Regions from separate parts of the Homo sapiens genome. Here regions 1, 2 and 4 are each linked to region 3. Evidence: promoter capture Hi-C in 16 types of primary human blood cells and fetal thymus (Javierre and others, 2016). All regions are on one chromosome and are shown on one strand. The core of a region is centred on a gene start or on the middle of the fragment in contact, and the rest is flanking DNA. Distances in the headings are between cores, read along the strand shown.

Evidence for each region. The method cuts DNA at HindIII sites, captures the fragments that hold promoters and counts their contacts. A CHiCAGO score of 5 or more calls a contact.
Region 1: a fragment that was not itself captured here is called in contact with the fragment with the promoter of NDFIP2 in region 3 in 1 of 17 cell types (naive B cells); the score reaches 5.2 in naive B cells.
Region 2: a contact is called between a fragment that was not itself captured here and the fragment with the promoter of NDFIP2 in region 3, in 1 of 17 cell types (total B cells). The highest score is 5.5, in total B cells.
Region 4: a contact is called between a fragment that was not itself captured here and the fragment with the promoter of NDFIP2 in region 3, in 1 of 17 cell types (non-activated CD4 T cells). The highest score is 6.5, in non-activated CD4 T cells.

Annotation. Positions count from the first base shown.
Region 1 is chr13:78,142,547-78,147,545 of GRCh38, forward strand. All of the region lies in intron 1 of OBI1-AS1 (OBI1 antisense RNA 1), which reads left to right. Among named protein-coding and RNA genes, the nearest start is that of OBI1-AS1, 90 kb to the left of the region's middle. The HindIII fragment of the contact is 228 bases long and covers 2,502-2,729 here.
Region 2 is chr13:78,118,497-78,123,276 of GRCh38, forward strand. The region is part of intron 1 of OBI1-AS1 (OBI1 antisense RNA 1); the gene reads left to right. Among named protein-coding and RNA genes, the nearest start is that of OBI1-AS1, 66 kb to the left of the region's middle. The HindIII fragment of the contact is 165 bases long and covers 2,992-3,156 here.
Region 3 is chr13:79,477,898-79,482,588 of GRCh38, forward strand. It overlaps NDFIP2 (Nedd4 family interacting protein 2), which reads left to right and starts at 3,258. Exons shown (of 8, transcript NM_019080.3): 1 at 3,258-3,627. The coding sequence starts at 3,307. NDFIP2-AS1 (NDFIP2 antisense RNA 1) reads right to left here and starts at 3,334. Exons shown (of 3, transcript NR_046685.1): 1 at 3,255-3,334; 2 at 1,939-2,033. The HindIII fragment of the contact is 10,753 bases long and covers 1-4,691 here.
Region 4 is chr13:77,717,120-77,721,868 of GRCh38, forward strand. SLAIN1 (SLAIN motif family member 1) reads left to right here. Exons shown (of 7, transcript NM_001242868.2): 2 at 2,413-2,552. Among named protein-coding and RNA genes, the nearest start is that of MIR3665, 21 kb to the left of the region's middle. The HindIII fragment of the contact is 171 bases long and covers 1,558-1,728 here.

The sequences.
Region 1 (4,999 bases), core at 1,366-3,865, 1.3 Mb before region 3:
GAGTTTTTCTTACTTTTCATCTGATAATTATAAAATTAAAATAAATATCAAAATGTTTCCAGATATGTCAGAAAGCTGAAGGGTTTCATGAGCCTAGATGGTTTCTGTTATCCGCAAAAATAGATTTTTAATTAATCCATGGCCCAAGATGTTGGTTTAGTTGTGTTCTCCTTCATTTTAGTTCAGAATCTGGAGAGGATACAAAATTCAATAGATTTTTCTTTTTCCCCCCCCAGCATAGGAACTACAGAGTAAGGATAGCTCTGCAGGTATATGTAAAAGCTAATTCTATGAGGAGCCAAAGACAGGGTTTCAGAAAGTCCAGTTTAAGACACGAGAGAGAGATGAACGATGTGCCTCCAGAAGTATGCATAGTCCACAGAACAAATTATGTAGATCAGTTGAACTGGTGAGGAGATAAACACTTTTGGCTAGTTAAGACTTCATGGAAGACGTGGGATCTCCATAAGACTTGGAAGAACAAGTTGCTTTTAGAAAGTGTGGGAGAAGGTCCAGGTGCTGTGGCTCATGCCTATAATCCCAGCACTTTGGCAGGCCGAGGCAGGAGGATCACTTGAAATCAGGAGTTAGAGATCAGCCTGGCTAACATGGTGAAACCCCATCTCTACTAAAAATACAAAAATTAGCCGGGCGTGGTGGTGCGTGCCTGTAGCCCCAGCTACTTGAGAGGTGGAGGCTGCAGTGAGCTGAGATCGCACCACTGCACTCCAGCCTGGGTAACAGAGCAAGACCCTCTTTCAAAAAAAGAAAAGAAAAGTGAAAAAGTGTGAGAGAAGAAGCAAAGTACATATAAAAGGAAATATGATGAGAATAAAATTCCAGTTACACAACTGTAAGATGTTTCTGGGAAATAACAGTAGACCTATTTCATATGGATACACAGGGAGATAAAATTACAAAAATGAGGACAGATCTTTGATGCTGTGCTAAAGAATTTAGACTTGGTCTTGAAAGCAACAGGAAGATACCCTCAGGCCCTGAGCATAGGGATGACATGATTGAAGTACTATTTTAGAAGGTTTACCTAGGAATAAACATGAAGAGGTTGATATAGGGAGTTATTGGAGGCAGAATGACCAACTGAAAAGTTTTTTACAGCAGTCCAACTGTGTAACTAAAGGGCCTAAAATAGAGTAGGGAAAGTGGAAATATACGGAAAGAATAAAATGTGAAAGACAATTCAAAGCTGAAATTGGCAGGACAGGACTTCATGCCTAATTGGATTCAGATAACCAGGTAGGGAAGAGGTGAAAATGTATGAATGTTCTGAGTCTCTAAGACTGTGATAATAATGATAAAATTAGTCCAAACTGAGAGCAGGGATTGAGTCCCTAAGACTATGATAATAGTGATAAAATTAGTCCAAACTGAGAGAAGGGATACCTGTATTCCTGGGCTGTTGTGAGAATTAAATAAAAAAACATAAAAGCTGTTTTAAAATTTCTGAATTATATGAAGATATGGCCTGATTAGAGAAGAGAAAGTCTAAATAACAACCAATAGGGTAAGAATGAGATAAATTTTGTATGAGGAATCTTGGGTTTATGGTTATCCAAGTAGAGATGGTCAAAGTGCCATTCTCAATGATCACCATTGCCATAAACAGAGGAATCTATTAGGATAAAAAGAGACCAGCACAGAATCAGTTGTAGGTGTTACCAGAAACATGACCCACATGGCCACCTCCATTTGGTAGTGTTTAAGTAAGTAAAGAAGGTAGCAAGGCATCACACCAGGAGAAATAAAGGATATTTTTTGAGTGTGTATGCAATGTGCCAAGTGCTTTTACTCACACATTTTATTTTAACACACTCATTATGTTGGGTGGTAGAAGCCTCACTTTAGAGATGAGAAACATGGCAATCAGATTTTAACTATATCTCCATTAATAAACAGTGAAGCTGTTTTTCTGATTTCAAGACAAGTGTCTTTTAACTAGACCATCTATACTTTAGTCTTGGCATGGACACATACCAGGATGACTCAACTTGGGTGACATAACCCCTGTGAACCTTGGTTCCTACTGTAAGATGGGAAGGATCATATTTAACTTATGTAGTTGCTGTAAGGGTAAAATAATGTGAAAGAGTTGTGAAAATTGATAAGTACGGGACAATATAACATTATTATTAGTGTGTAGTGATAAGTTTAATTTAAACACATGATTGTACAACTCTGCTTGGAAGAAGTTGCTGTGAAACTATTAAAGTATGGCTGACATTCTCCAACCATCTGACTTAAAATTTCCAAAATTAATTTTCACTGGGCAATGCCTCTGAAATATATCTTTTCCTTGATTTATTTATATAGAACAACAGAATTATCTGTTCTAGTTAGATAAAAATTTCTAAGAATCATTTAAAATTTACTCTGAAATTCCTTACTCTCTAATCTTAAAAGTCCTTGAATATATTAGTTTAACGTAGCTCTTTCATTAGTACACCACTTCCATACTGAACTGATGACAATGCTTATTTTAAAGCTTTTGTAATGCTTAAAAACATGCCTAGATCTTCAAAATTATGGTCACCATTTTGTTCTGTAATATTGTGTTTGTCTTCTATGAAAACCTGCCACATTCAATAGCCATATGTATGTTAATGAAAGAATAATAATGACAACTAATAGAACACAAGATGTGTCAGTGTACGACTATCAGAGCAAAATCAAAACAAAACTGCATAAAGACATTATGAATCTGGATCTGAAGCTTCTTGGTTCTTAACTAGTTTTATGTTAATGAAACAATTATTAGAACACACAAAACCCTTCCTTTTTAATTTGATAAATTGAGTGGTGATGTGAGTTAATTGAACCATCGGTGTGATAATAAGATGCAACTGGTATGATTTATCAGAGGATGACATGGTTACAGGCATTGCTTCCACAGAAAATAATGGCTGTTATTACCACTTCCTGAGGTGAGCAGGCAAGCCATAAACCTAGCTTATTGCTACACAGGTCAGAGGATGAGGGGTCCATTTTGCCTTTTGTCTTAGTGGATCCTTTAAGGCTGTCTCTTAATAATTTGGAAAATATTTTTCCATATTCCACAAACAATATCAATACTGACTTTGTTTAGGCTATTCTATAATCTTAACCTATTTAGCTAAGTATTAAAGTGAAAAACCCCTAGATCTCCAAGAGCTTTGAGTTCTAATGTTAGTAATTAAGGGGTCACCTTGGGTCTTCTTTTTCAAGTTGCATTATCTTGTAGAGATATTTTCGCAAGTGGTTATTCTAGTGGAATAATCCTCCAGGGCTCTGCCGCTTGAGAAGTAAGTCCTGTGCTTTTTCATATATGATTCAGAGAGAATATTACATGCTACTCATCTTCTGGTGGAAGAGAAAGAAATAAGTGATCACAAAGCCCTTTGGTTTGCAAAGAAAACATTTGAATTTACAATGTTATATTTCTTTGTATCCCAATGACTTCAAAGTAAATAAAAAGTAAATCAATGTCACTGGATCCATGAAATATATGTATCTGGACATGGGATCTATTTCTGCCACATAGTGATATTAGGAAAAACACTTGCCATATGTTCATACTATGAAAAATTAATCCAAGATCTTGGAAAGAGCTTGTGCCTATGCTGAAAAGGTTATATCTTAAAATACTAATAAAATCTTCATTCTTCATTAATCTTTTATTCATTTATTGGATTTCTCATTTTTAACCTCCATTTGTACATTTTTCAAGCTTTTTTATACACACAGCCACATATGTTCATTTAATTCTTAAAACCATTCTGAAGTTGACATGTCATCATATAATTTATTATAGAAAATGAGGAGCTCTTGAAAAGAGGAAGGTCTTGTTAATTAATCCGAGACAACAAGTATAAGCCAGGACTTCTCTGAGATCAGAGAATACAGTCACTCTAGGTAAGAAATTCATCAAAATTTTAAAAATTCACCAAAGAAATACAGTGGGAAAGTGACAGAGCCAGAATTTGGTTCCATGCTTTTAGGACCTAACATTTTCTAACAGTCCTTCCCAACAGATTTTGGGATTTCCTGATTTACTAATTTGAAATGATTAGAGGGAGAGAAGTCAGGGATCCCGGCCTGCAAAAATATTAATGCAAAGTAGATACTATGTCTTATATATCTTCAGGTATTTAACTTGAAACCCACCTGGTCTTCAGTGAACATTTGTGCATCTCAACCAAATCATACCACTTGACACTTCACCATTTTGGATATATTCCTTTAGATGGTAAGGAGCTTTCTGTTTTCAAAAGTCAATGAATAGAAAAACAATATACCCCCCCACACACACATATATTTTATATATCTATATATCTATACTCATACACTCAGATCAGCCCTTCCTTCATTGTCTGTTAATCTTGGTTTGCAAAAATCTGCACATAAATTTTACGAAAAAATGATGACTGTCAGATATTTTCTAGGCTCAGAAGAGAACAGAATCACACTGTTTTGGGAGATAGGAAAAGGGCAACAGCTTTGGTCTATTTAACCATTCTTCAAATAGTTATTATGCCAGTTTTAACCTTGTCCATTTTCACACCTTTACTGGCTGCACAGACAATGCTAATTGGAAACATTTTGTTTGTAGGACCTTCTGGTCTAGGTGGAAATTTTAATTTGTTTAACCACACTTAATTATGAAATACATCATCTACAAATTTGTAGCTGCTAAGAGGAATGGCCTAATGAGAGGATATGGACCATATTAAGGAAAAGAAATCAGACATTGTAATCGTGATACGCTGAATAGAACCCTAGATCTACCATTAAATACCTATGTGACTTTAGTTGAGTAACTTCATTCTCTGGGCCTCAGATTCCCTATCTGTAAAGTAGGCTAATTAGGTTAGCTGGTACAGCATTTAAAACATAGTTTTACTATGCTATTGTTTTGTAAACCAGAAAACTTGGTGATGCAATATAATTTCCAATGATAAGACATGAGGAAATTTCCACAGCTTCCATTTTTTTCATCCTTTTA
Region 2 (4,780 bases), core at 1,824-4,323, 1.4 Mb before region 3:
ACCACTGACATAAGCATCCTTTACTTCCCAGAGTGGTAGAGAGGACTCAGAAAAGGGAAGGCCATTCGGGGCATGGGCCTGGAGGGAAATTTAGTGTTACTAATGAAAGATTTTTACCTTACCACCCTGTGATGGAAGAGAAGAGGTTCTCCTACCCAAGTGATAAAAAAAGACCCCTCCCAAATCATAGACATTGGGGATGTCTGCAAGGAGAGGGAAACTGACGTCTACTCCCTGGCTGGATGCTCATTGAGCTGTGAAATCTTTAGGCCAATTATTTTGACTTGGTTTAGCTAAGTAGACTATAGTGAAGGAATTCTGCATTATCTGGAGTTGTCAGTTTTGCATTTAAGGCACTAAAGACTGCTGTTCTTCCAGATATTTTAGGAGATTCAAAACTTGCTGGTGTAGACCACACCAGCCTGAGAAGGATAGCACGACTTTTCTGATCTCCACAACACAGGGAAGACCTCAGGGGTTCCTTTGGCTCCATATGAAGGAGAACAGAGTTCACAGGTGATTCCAAGTTAACCAAGTGGCCATCACACAACACAAACAGTGCTTACCAGGAGGGAAGGGCAGAAGGAAGCATTCTGCTTTCCGAGATGGTCAAGAAACAGTGAGCTGTATGCCATCTCAGAAAAACCACAAATCTAGTTTTTCTAGACACAATCTAGTTTGAGACGGCATGTCAGCAGAGACCACCAGCATCAATGGAACCAGACCAAATCAGAGAATACCAGAGATGCTGCTACACCACTGATGTGGGTGGTTATAACTGAAGATTCCTTCAGCATTGCTTCTTGCTTGGTGAAAAAAAATATATATTTCTTCCTCCTCTTGTCACCCTTCTCCTTTTCCGCCCTCTCTGCTTTCTACCCTCTGCCTCTTCCTTTCTCTCTCTCCTTTCCCTACTCTCCCTCCTCTTCCATCACTATTACTACCATTCTTCTTCCTCTTCTCCTCCTTCTCTCCCTCTTCCTTCTCCTGTACTCTCCTCCCTCCTTGTCCTCCTCCTCTCTACCTTCTTCTCCTCCTCCTTTCTTCTTCTCATCTTTAATTCAAATATATTAGAAAGAGAGAATGTCAAAGAATGATGTATAAAGAGTTGAGTAAAAGTTTATTTGCGAATGTGTGTTGGGGCTAAGGAGCAAGACTTGGCAGGGAAGAAGGTGGTAAGAAGGCAGAATAGACACTGCTGACACTGCAGCAAGTCTTATAGTGGATGACTGTCAAGCCAATCCAAATATTTTAGACTCCAGCTGTATGAACAGATGTTCCCAAATTGGTGAACTGTTTACATTTAACAGAGGACATTTAATCTTTCAAGAGACTCTGATCTAAGGTTGTCTTCTTTTAAAAGTTAATATGTCTGTCATAAGACTTTATTCCTAGTAGCAAATATTTAAAGCAACACTTTTTAAAGAAAGTAGAAACTGGTATGATGGTGTGTGCTTGCAGTGCCGGCTACTCAGGAGCCTGATGAGGGAGGGTCACTTGAGCACAGGATTTTGAGTCTACCCTGGGTAACACAGTGATACCTCATCTCTTAAACAAACAGAAAAACAAAAAACGAAAGTAAGAAAGTTGTGGAAAATTGCAATTTAAAATTATAATTTCTTAGTAAACATATTAGAGACTGAAGTTATTTTGATAATATTTTTTTCCAAAATCATACATGATAGATGTGTCAGTCAGTTTCACACTGCTATAAAGAACTTCCTGAGACTGGGTAATTTAAAAAGAAAAGAAGTTTAATTGACTCACAGTTCCACATGGCTAGGGAGGCCTCAGGAAATTCACAATCATGGCAGAAGAGGAAGCAGGCACATCTTACATGGCAACAGGCAAGAGAGAGCCTGTGAAGGAGGAACTGTCAAACACTTATAAAACCATCAGATCTTGTCAGAACTCACTCACTATCGTGAGAACAACATAGGGGAAACCATCCCCATGGTTCAATCACCTCCCACCAGGTCCCTCCCTTGACATGTGGGGATTATGGGGATTACAATATGAGATGAGATTTGGGTGGGGACACAGAGCCAAACCATAGCAATAGGATATGGAGTTATATAGTAGACTTAATTTTTTAAAGTAAGTTTTTAAAATTCTGAATAATGCAGTGTAACTTTTTGTAACTCTAGCATAAAGATACCTCTGTATGTATTTATGCAACAAATTAGATAATCTCATAATTCACTGAGCGTAAAAGATGAACAATATGCCACATTCTAGATCGTCTATATAGCCACGGCTATATAGACAAAAGCAGATAGAAGGTTTAGAAAAACGTTTGGATCAAAATGCCAAAGACTTAACTAAGTACCATATTATATGAGAATCAAAGGAAGAGATAGTTTTGTGATCTGAATTATTTGGATTGATTGCACAAAGTGACAACCAGAAAAAAAGAACAGAAAAACAATAAAATTATTCTTAGATGAAAATTTTATTAGCTTCTCTTTCCTCTACTCTAGTGTAATATTTTCTTCATTTTACACACACTTTAAAATTCATCTAAGAAGAAAATATAAGATTTACATATAATTCAGATACTTTTTCTTATGAGCTAGAGAGGCCAAAGAAACAAACCAACAAACCAAAAAACAATCCCTTCCATTAAACCCCTGAGTAAAAGTCAGGAAGTTGATCATATGCGATGATGTGACACCTCTTAATCACGGAGAAAGGACATTGATGAATAATCAGCAGGATAGCAAAGGTGTAGTGCAGTCACTGATAGGACATCAGCAGTTACTCCTGGGAAAGTGTAAGAAATTTTAAGGAACAGCAGAAAAGAATGAAGGACTCAGCTCCCTAACAGAATCAGAGAATTCATAGGCTCAGATAAAGGTGACTCGTTTCTGTATTTCTATGTCAGAAATATACAGGAGCTCATCCCCCCAAAAGTGAAGCAGTCTATAGTCACAAATTTTATTTTGGAAAAATGAAACAAAACCAGAGAAAAACTTAGAGCATCTTTACACAAGCTTTTTTTTTTCAAGTGCTTTTTGTTATTCTAATGGATCCTATATTCAAAACATTCCAAGATAATCAGTGTCTCTCTGCAGGAAACCCTGCTGATTTTAGGGAAATGATTAATAATCGGTCACTTTCTCTGCCCCTTTCAGCTTCTCTTAAGTTTAGTGAGGAAGCTTAAAGAATTCTTACACCTCCCCCTGCTGGCAGCAAACAAGAAGTGCAGGTTTGGTACGTAAAACACGTTCACACTGAAAATAATGGCTAAGATCAACTTTTGATTCTAAAAACAAGATTCTTTCCATCTGTAATCCGTGAAAAAGTTTGAAACATGAATTTAAAACATGAAAAGTAATAATAAAGTTTTGGGAAGTACTGCTTTTCAGAAGTCAAACAATGAGTATTATGTTAAAATATTTAATTCAACAGCATTCCTTCAAAAATTTATATTTCTGAAATCTGACTCCAGAAATGACTTTGTTGTGACCTTTACGTCTTTTCAACTGTGTCTCTACTTGCTGCCATTCTCTCTATAGATCCCATTATTATCCGTCGCGGAGACAGGAGGTTCGTCAATCACTTAATCTGCTCCCCTGCACTTTCCAACTCCCTTGCTGTTCTTGCTTCTGGGCGGTACTGATGGGTCACTTACGGGTCCACACACGGAGGACCCAGCCCATGATCCCCATCTGCCTCTGCTGCGGCAGGTACTGCAGATGTTCCAGAGAGTGGAGTGTCCATCAACCTAGATGCTTGAGAGCCTATGTTGAGCAGGGGCCTCTGTGTGTTCCTCCCCTCATTGACCTACAGCTGAATTTGAGTGAGAACTACCTGTTAGGTGTTAAGCAATTGAGAGTTCATTTGTCCTGAAAATAACAACGTAGCTGATGACTTTAGAATGTAAACCAAAACATATCTGATACAAGTCTAAATCAATTTACAAAGTTTATTTTGCCAAGGTTAAGGAGGCACACCCCTGACACAGTTTCAGAAGGTCCTCACAACATGTGCCCAAGGGGTTCAGGGCACGGCTTGCTTTCATACATTTTAGGGAGACGTGAGACATCAATCTATATGTCTAAGATGTACGTTGGTTTGGTCTGGAAAGACAGGGCAACTCGAAGTGGGGCAGGGGCTTCCAGGTCATAGGTAAATAACAGACAAATGGTTACATTCTTGTAAGTTTCTGATTAGCCTGTCACTGAATATACGATTTACAGGAATAGTCACTTATGCCTTAGTCTGGCTTAGTGAAACAATAGGGCAAAGGAAGCAATCAGATATGCATTTGTCTCACGTGAGCAGAAAGATGACTGAGTTCTGTCTGTCCTTTATCCACAAGGAGTTTCTTTGCAGACAAAGTGGGAGAGAGGTATTTATCTTTTTAATCTTTGTAGCTGTTTTATTTAGGAGTAGAATGGGAGGCAGATTTGTCTGCAGTACTTAGCTTGACTTTTCCCTTTGTTAGTGATATGGGGGTTGCAAGATTTATTTTCCTTTCACAGGTATATTTGCACCTTTCACAAGAACATTAAGAACAATCCTGAGCATTCTTCATGTCTCGTTTGATCCTTACCACTGCCCTCTGCAGTACTTTATATAGATGTTATTAGCCACATTTTGTATGTGACAAAACTCTGGCAAAGGTAGATTAGATGCATTGTTCCAGGTCACACGGGCAAGAAGTGATGGAACCAGGAATCAACTCAGATTCCAAATTTCCTCAATTTTTATTTCGACTTTACATTGTCTCATAAAACAAAATTCACAATTATGTAAGATTAATTACATCAAGTTG
Region 3 (4,691 bases), core at 2,008-4,507:
AGTTGTAATTATCTAACACAATTTTGATAATACTGCTCTATCACTGTACATATTGGTACTTGTCTTAGTTGGGTTCTCCGGGATGCAGATGCTGATATAAAGTTTTCAGTGCAAGAGATTCACTGCGGAGCAATGTCTGTTAAAATAAAAAGGACTGGGCAGGGGGAGCTGTCGCAACATGCTGCAGAGCTGAAAAAGTCTCTGCCAGCTTCACAGGGAACTCTGAAAGTTTGTCCCTTTAAGGGCTTCAGTGTCTGGCAAAAATAGCCAGAGCCTTGTACCACTGCCTTGCTCAGTTAGTGGCTGGGTGCCACCCTGAAAATAGCACCTCCTCAGGTTGAAAGCTGAGGGAGACCCTGACAAAGCTACCAATTGGAAGTTGTCTGACAGCCACATTCCTTCCAGCTGGGCAGAGTGTGCTTTCTTGAAAGGGAATCTGGGCAGCTTATCTCCATGTCTACTCCAGTACTGCAGAGCAGCACTAGTAAAATTTTGGGTGGCTGTGTGTTTGGAGATGAAAATTGATCAAGCCAGAATGAGAGGTGTTAGTGAAGTGCACTAAAATTCTACAATTCTACTTGAGGTAGCTTCTAGTGCTGCACCACTGCAAATTCCTTAGATAACTAGAGTTGTCGCCATAATACCAGGGATTGAAAATATTATTGGATGTTGCTTAAGGTCTGTAAAATGGTAAAGAATATTGTTATTCCCACTGCATCTCAAGTAAGTTTCTCCTAGTGGGACAACTCAGTGCCTCTGCTTGTAATGGTCCATTACAGGTCACATGGGCTTAGTTGTAAAGTGGGCAAAAGAAGCTCAGAATGGCTCTTTTGGGGATGATGAATAAGAATTATTATTTTACATAGATCAAGAAGGTGGGATTTAAAGAAGTCAGATTGGCTCTTTGTGATACATTGCTATCTTTTTATGTCTTCTGCACGTTTCACAGTAGTGGTGGCTAGGAAGAGGAAAGAGACAAGGACTCTTCTTTATTAGGTGCATTATGCTTAATATAGTGCTTAATATGGTGGAGGCTCTGATGTCTGTCATCACCTACTAGTGATTTGGCATTAGCCAAGTTCATGAAACTCCTTGTGCCTTATTTTCCCCCCTCATCTGTTAACCAAGGAGTGCAACTGTGCCTATATCATGAAGTTCTGGTGAGGCTAAAATAATAGATGTATAGTACTGGCTTAGAAAGGGCTCTATACTAGTAAGCTGTTGTTCTACTTCTCCTTCCCCTCTTTCTCTTCCTCATTACAAATACGCTTTCCTGCTGAATTTGTTACTCCACTAGATTAGCAAAATGTTCAGAGAATCTGGGAGGAGGGTAAAATAGAAAGAATCTGTTACTCTATCAGGATTCAAGATGTCTGCTTTTGGTCAGATCTTTGATTTTTACTTTTATGTTCTCAGTGCTGCATTGGGTGTAAGAAATGGTCTCTGCCCTGAGCAGCCATCTATTTGAGAAACAGATGAACACATGAATGATTAATGAAAACACATATGCATATAAAATTAAGTTCTAAATAAATCTTATAGATCGTAAGTGATATAAGGATCTAATTTCAGTTTGCTGATACTGGCTGTTGTTTTGGTCATCGAGAGGCAATACCATTTGGAGTGAAATTGTGAGAGTGAGCGTTTGTACCAGTAATACCAATAAAATGGCATATGTTTATTGGCTTAGAAACTAAAATACATTAAGATCAAAACAAGGCAAGTTTAACAATATTTAAGTATGAGATATCACTGCCTCTTATTGTTAGCACAGTAATGCTTTATGCTATTAGACATGTCAAAACGGCACAAATAGGAAGAGTTGATGAATGCTTTAAAAAGAACTATGAGGAAGGCTTACATTTTTTAGTTGTCAATCTCTCAAAGAGTTTCTGTTTTTATTCTATCTTGCTATTTTAACCAGTTGATTAGGCTCACCCAGTGGCAGTCTTCATTTCAAGGATCTCCTCTGGACATTCATGAAGGAAATAAATGGGGCTCCAGATCCCTTTCCTTCCCTTCAGGGCGCTCCACTGTAAGATCATTTAGGGAAAATGTGGTGTTATGTTAAAAACATAGCTGGGCCACATCAAGCAGCATCATAGTTTTTAGGGTATAGAACGTTGGTCTTCAGGTTAAAAGGTACTTTTCGCTGCTCTGTCATACTCTTCTACTTGCTAGAGAAATATGCTTTATGCCGTGTCATGTGTGGTTAACCAGACAGTGAGATACTACTAACAGTGCTCCCAAGTGATTCCTTGCTGTTAAATCAATTGGAATTATTGAGTATTACCACAAAATAATCCTATCTGATTTCATTACTTTCTTCTAACGTCCTTCCAGTAACCTAGAACTCTAGAGACCTCTTTCTTTGAGAGTTGTCTGGAGAGTCCGTTGGATTTTTAAATCTCTTATTACCAAAAAGTGGAAAAAAGAGTTTAAAAAGTAACCAAAGAGCTAGTGCCTGTAGTCTCAGCTACTCCAGAGGCTGAGGCAGGTGGATAGCTTGGGCCGAGGAGTTCGAGGCTACAGTGAGCCATGACTGCGCCTGCTAACAGCCACTGCACTCCAGTCTGGGCAATATAGTGAGACCCCATCTCTAAAAAAACAACAAACAAAAACAAAAATTACCCCACAGAAGAATTTCAGGGCAGTGGAAATACTCTGTAGGATACTATAATGATGGATACCTGCCATTACACATTTGTTCTAACTCGAGGAGTATACAACAACCTGAGTGAACCCTGAGGTAACTATGGACTTTGAGTGATGATGAGGTGTCAATGCAGGTTCATCAGTCGTAACACATGTACCACTCTGAGGGGGGATGTTGATAATGGTGGGGGGTTATGCATGCGTAGGAGCCAAGTGTATATGGGATATCTCTGTAACTTCTCAATTTTTCTGTAAACTCTAACTACTCTATATTAGTCTTTAAAAAATCGCTTATCTTACGAATGATTTTGAATAAGCGTTTTGGGAATGTTCTAGAGATGAATCTCCTCCCCATGTCCTACGCTGGGTGAGGAAGTGTCGGGTACCCGGGCGACCTGTCCTCAGGTGTTCTAGGAACGCGGCCCCATCCCTTGTCAGCCTCTGTCTCTGTGTGGTGAGAAGGCGCACTGGCTCGTGCCTGCGCGAAACTCGCGCACACAGAAAAGACCAATCAAGGACGGGTCATTCCCGCCCCCCGCGCGCCTTTTGCGACCGCCCACTCGACAGGTTGACAACCTAGACAGCTCCCCCGGACTTGCCTTACTTTTCCATCTCCTCCCACCCAGCTATACCCTCCCACTGGCGGCGCGGATGGCACGCCGGCGGAGCCAGCGAGTCTGCGCGAGCGGTCCGAGCATGCTCAATAGCGCGCGCGGCGCCCCGGAGCTTCTCCGCGGAACCGCGACCAACGCGGAGGTCTCGGCGGCCGCTGCGGGAGCCACAGGAAGTGAAGAGCTTCCGCCGGGAGACCGCGGCTGCAGGAACGGAGGCGGAAGGGGCCCTGCGGCGACGACGTCGTCGACGGGGGTGGCCGTGGGAGCTGAGCACGGAGAAGACTCCCTCTCTCGGAAGCCGGATCCCGAGCCGGGCAGGATGGATCACCACCAGCCGGGGACTGGGCGCTACCAGGTGGTGAGTTCCCGGCCTCCTGTGCCTCCCGGGACTGCCTCCCGCCGCGGCGTCCCGAGAGTCCCTTTCCTCAGGTTATTCCCGGAGGAAAAGCTGTGGCTTTTTTTTGTTGTGTTTTGTTTTGTTTTTTTGGATCTTCTGGCTGGAGCTGCTTCACTCGCCTCACCTGCGCACTCCTGCCTAGGACTCCTTCGAAACCCTTCTCTCTCGCCCCAAGTCTGCTTAGCTCCTCACCCGCACCCTTAGCCCCGCTGTGAGACGCCCTCCCTCCACACACCTTACAACTTGTATCCGTTTTAATTTCTCACTTTATCATTTTCTTATTCTCTGACTCAGTCACTCCTGAGACATTCTAGTCGATTGTCTACTGGAAATGGGGCTGACTTCACATACCTGCCCGGAAGGTGATCGCCGTCATAAATGGGGTGGGTGAGTAGGTGGGTGGAGGTGTAAGTACTGCGTGGGGTGGGATGTGGATTTGGCAAAAATGTGGGTTAGGAATTGTGGAACTGTAGAGAAAGACTAGCCATAATGCTGATCTTGTCTCTCTGCTCGTTAACCTTGTCATTTTGTCCTTTTCCATTATGTTAGTATTAAAAATGACTGTATTTTTTGGTAATCCCCACTTTTTCTTTCTTTCTTTCTTTCTTTTTTTTTTTTTTTTTTTTTTTTTTGGTTAGAGGGGAAACAGAGGTAGTTTTAGTAGAACAAATTCTAATCTTGTTTGAAAAATTATTTTTCGTTAAATACAAGGTTTTCCAGCTTAACTGTGTAAACTTTGGTAACTATGTTGAAAAAAGTGAAATGTGTTCCTCTATATTTTCAGTGTCAATTTTTAAATATATTTTTCTTTGTGTATTCTGGTGGTGACGTTGGAGATTCCTGTTGTAAACCTTAGTTAAAGATGGACTGAGCAATAGTTGACTCTGCTGTTGTGCTGTTGCAGCTAGGTAGCATGTCATTCTACAAACTTTCAGCCCATTTACTGAGGGAGAGGAGAAAAACAATACATAGCACTGGTGATGCAGTTTATGGTTTATAAAATTTTACAAATTTAGGTATGTTAG
Region 4 (4,749 bases), core at 393-2,892, 1.8 Mb before region 3:
TCTGATAAGTTATATTGATGTTTGAATTTGTACCAACTTTTTATTTCTGATATAAACCCCACTTATTAATGGTGAAATATGCTAATGGTGAAGTTAGACTCAATTTACTGAAATATTTAGACTTTTTACATCTGTGTTCATGTGTGATATTGGCCGTTAGTTTCTTAATTTGTAATGTCTGATTTTGGTGTCAAGGTAACACTGCCCTAATAGGATGTATTAGGATGTATTCCCTCCTCTTCTGTTTTTCGGAAGAGTTTGTGAAGAACTGATGTTTTCTTTAAATACTTGGTAGAGTTTAGCAGTAAAGTCTTCTGGGCCCAGGTTTTTCTTTGTGGGTAGTTTTTTATTTTTTATTTTTTGATTACTTTTCTGGCTATTTACTTTTAACTTATTTGTTTGCCCATGTTTAAGGTGCGTTTCCTGTAGGAAGCATATAATTGAGTCTTTTGTGACACTTCCACCTCCCTTTAAGGAAAAACTTGTCCGCAAGCTTATCAGATGATTTTCTCTCAGTTTCTGTTGGCTAGGATTGTGTCTGGGGCGTGGGCCTAAACCAGTCAGGCAAAGGGGAACAATGAAAATACCATGATTGGCTTAGCTGAGTGCCTCTCAAGATGTGGTCTCCAGACCGGTAATATTAGCATCACCTGGAAGCTGCTTAGAAATCCAGATTCTTTGACCCTATGCATCAAACTTTTAAGGGGTGTGGTTTAGCAATTTGTCTTAACAAGATGTTTAAGTAATTTTGAGGCATGAGACATTGAGAATAACTAGCCTGGACTAACCTATACTTGTGAGTAGGGAGAAGTACCGTGTACTGGGCAGTTTAGGCTATGTTGCAAGGAAGTGGAAGGGATTATTACCTACATAGGTAGGTGATAATCTTGCCATAGTAGGACTGAGCTGGGGCCCAAGAATATGATTTTTAACTATATATACTCTTGATGGAGTCACAACTGTGCAACACACTCTAAGGAAAAAAAAAAATATATTGGACTTACAATTAAATCCATTGAGATCTATATTTTAGAGTCCTTACCTGTAACTGGAGTGAACAAACTGTCTCAAGGGCAAATCAGAGCCGTTGCATGTTTTGTATGGTGGGTAAGATACGGTTTTATGTTTTTAAATGATGAAAAAAAATACAAAGAATGTGAAAACTATGGGAAATTCAACTTTCAATGTCTATAAATCAATTTTAAAGGAACACAGCCACGTTTATTCGCTTACATATTGTCTAGGATGCCTTTGGACTGGAATGGCAGGGCTGAGTAGTTGTGACAGAGATCATGTGGCTTACAAAGCCTGAAATATTTACTTGCCGGTCCTTTACAGAAAACATTTGGCAATCCCTGATCTGTAAGAATAATTTACTGAAGAATAGTACATTCCCCAACCATCTTGTATAACTGATAAATTACTCTAATAGGTGAACGTTTTGTCTAGAACAGTGAAAGTATGAATAATGAAGTATGTTATTTCAAGAATATGTGCTTATTAGAATTGTGGTAGCTTTGTTGGAAAGAAGATTACTTTAGATTTGTAATTAATGTAAGCTTATAGTAGTAAGGTGTCACGTATTAGAGCCAGCAGTTTTGGGGAGGTAATTCACCCTCCCCCCTTTTTTAGTTAACTGCTGTTTATTCCTCAAGATAAACCTTTCTGTATAGCCCTATCACTGAAAATATTCTAAAATCTACCTTAACATGGCATATTAATGAGAGAAGCTTTTTTATAACTTGCAGTGCCTCCGGGTAGTCATTTTGAATACTATCCATTACTGTGTAATTGTGTAGGTGCTGAAAGTGAAGTCTTCGTAAAACATATCTTTTAAAGCTCTTTGTTTGGCTTTAATGAAAAAGAAACATATACCAAGGTTAGTATAGATTTGAGACAGGAGAAATATGTGATTATGTAAGGGTTCAAAGAATCAAGTGACTGGCTTTTACGGGTGTTTAGACTTATTTTTAAAAAATACACATAAGATTTGCCTTGTTTGTCACATCATGTTTACCTTCATTAGCCCAAGTTTACAAAAGATTCTGTTGCCAAAGAGAAAGATGAAAATGTTCATTTCTTGACATGTCAATAGAGATAGTAAGATCATGATAGTGCCTTTTTAGGGCTAGTTTAGTTAAAAAAAAAAAAAAAGCCCTTGATCTCTGATGCTGAAACACACAGTTAGGGGGAAAATTGTTAGACCTTTTTTTGGAAGTTCTCACCAGGCTACAGGAAGTGTCATATTCTATTTGGGGATATTTGCCTGTTAAAAACTATTTCTGATACTTTGAAGTCATCAAATATGAGTTCTGTTTCTATGGAAATTGTTAAATACATGTTGCTTTCCCCAGAGAGAGGTACTCTCTGTATACCTATATCATACCTATAATGTAGATTTCTTTTTTTAAGGTTATACATTGGCTCTTCAAAGACGTTCACCTCATCAGAGAAATCCCTGACTCCTTTGCAGTGGTGTAGACATGTCCTAGATAACCCAACTCCTGAGATGGAAGCAGCGAGACGTTCCCTGTGCTTTAGACTGGAGCAAGGTAATTGTGAGTGTGTGCATTTACATTCTCCAACTCTTGTCACTCTCAGTGCTGCTTTTGTTGCTGGTTTTGGAATAAACATTTCAATTGAAAATTCTTACCCTGAGGTGCAGCTGTTGCATGCAATTTGCTTCACATGTATTACACATCAAGCTTTCTCAATGTAAGATGTGTTTAGTTTTGTGCTTGATTTTAGCCATATTTTTAGTTTGCTTTAGTTCATATTGCAATGTAGGAACACACAAATTTATTTCTTTTTTTTTTCTGTTTGCAAATATACCAGTCAAAAAAATTGTCAGTTATCAGTGCTCTGGGGTCAGTAACAAGGTTGTGTGGCTGTTTTCTAAGGCAGAAAACAGGATTTCATGGGGATCTGAGTACTGACCTTACTGAGTGTCTTTAACATTTAGTTGGATGTATAACTGGAAGTGCTAACCTTTAAAAACTAAGAAATCTTCATATTGTCTGTAACATTAATTAACTTATGGAGCCTAACAGAAGTTTAAATTTAAAAAAAGGGCAGTTGGAAAAACAGCAAAAATGAATGAGTGGTACTCAGTTCCTTGCTATTTGATGCAGGGAACTACTTGAAGCTGTAATTATGTAGGCTTTTGGCTTGTCTCTTAACCTCTGGGCATCTGTTTGATCCTCTGGGAACACTGTTTCTATTCCATGGACCACCTGCATCCAAATCATACATGAGCTTCAAAGTACAGATTCCGGAGCCTCCAGATTAAAGAATGATACTGTTTGAGGGTAGAGTCAGGGGAGTCTGCATTGAGAAGTTCACCAGTGTGATTCTCATGTACACTGATATTTGAGAACGCTGCCCATGAAGCTCTTTGAGGATAATGAATAACATGTTTGGACATAAGACAAAGCATTATAGATAATGCTTCAAGAGCTCTTAATTCTATGACATTCATTACCTTTACATTCTTGACATCCTTCATCTTATTCAGTGTAACTGAACTCATCTTTAGAGGTGAGAAATACGAAGTTTAGAGAAGTTCCCAGGGTTACAAGGCAGAATGATACTCAGGGACAGAGTCAGAGCCAGGGTCTCTCTGAAACCAGAGTCTCCATACTTAATTAGTATTCTGTACTGCCGTATTGGCATGGTCATAAGTAAATATCAACAGAAATCTGTTAAATACTCGGAAGGTGGGATGAAAGAATGTATTTTATTAACATTTTAACTGAAATGAAACAGGTGACTTAATAATGGAAAGTTGAAGAGCAGTGTAGGGACAAAGGCATGTTAGGGTTAAAACTTTGGTGATAGATGCTCATCTAACAGAGCAGCCATCTCAGAGTCGGAGGCTGTAGTATTCATTCTGTTCCCATTTACCTAAGTGACTCGAAGAAAACTGATACGGTTTGGCTCTGTGTTCCCAGCCAAATCTCATCTCCATTTGTAATCCTCACATGTAGAGGGAGGCACCTGGTGGGAGGTGACTGGATCATGGGGGCGGTTTCCCCCATGCTGTTCTCATGATAGGGAGTTCTCATGAGAGCTGATGGTGTTAAGTGTGGCACTTCCTCGCTCTTTCACTTTCTCTCTCTCCTGCCACCATGTAAGGATGTGCCTTGCTTCCCCTTTACCTTCCACTATGATTGCAAGTTTTCTGAGGCCTCCCCAGCCATGGGGAACTGTGAATCAATTAAGCCTCCTTTCTTTATAAATTACCCAGTCTCAGGTAGTATCTTTGTAGCAGTGTGAGAACAGACTAATACACAAACCATTAAATCCCTTTGGATTAACTCTTTGAAGGGTTATATAGACCATTCCTAAGCCTCCTTACTTAATCCTTGACTCAGTGACTTATATCTACATTTTAACATACAAATTTGGCTCAATAATTTGAAGTAAAATTCAAATTGAATTCAGAATTAGTCCTTTATCTCAGGGGTCAACAAACTTTTTTTTGAAAGGAGATAGATAGTCAATATTTTAGATTTTGTGGGCTACATAATCTCTGTCATGACTGTTCAACTTAGCCATGCCCAGAAAACAATGATCAATGCAGAAATTAATGAATGAGGATGCATTCCAATATAACTTTATTTACAAGCCCTGACATTTGAATTTTGTGTGGTTTTTCACGTGTCACAAAATGTATATATTTTTCCCAATTATTAAAAAAATATGAAAACATTTCTTAGCTGGTGAATTATTACAAAAGCAGGAGTGGGC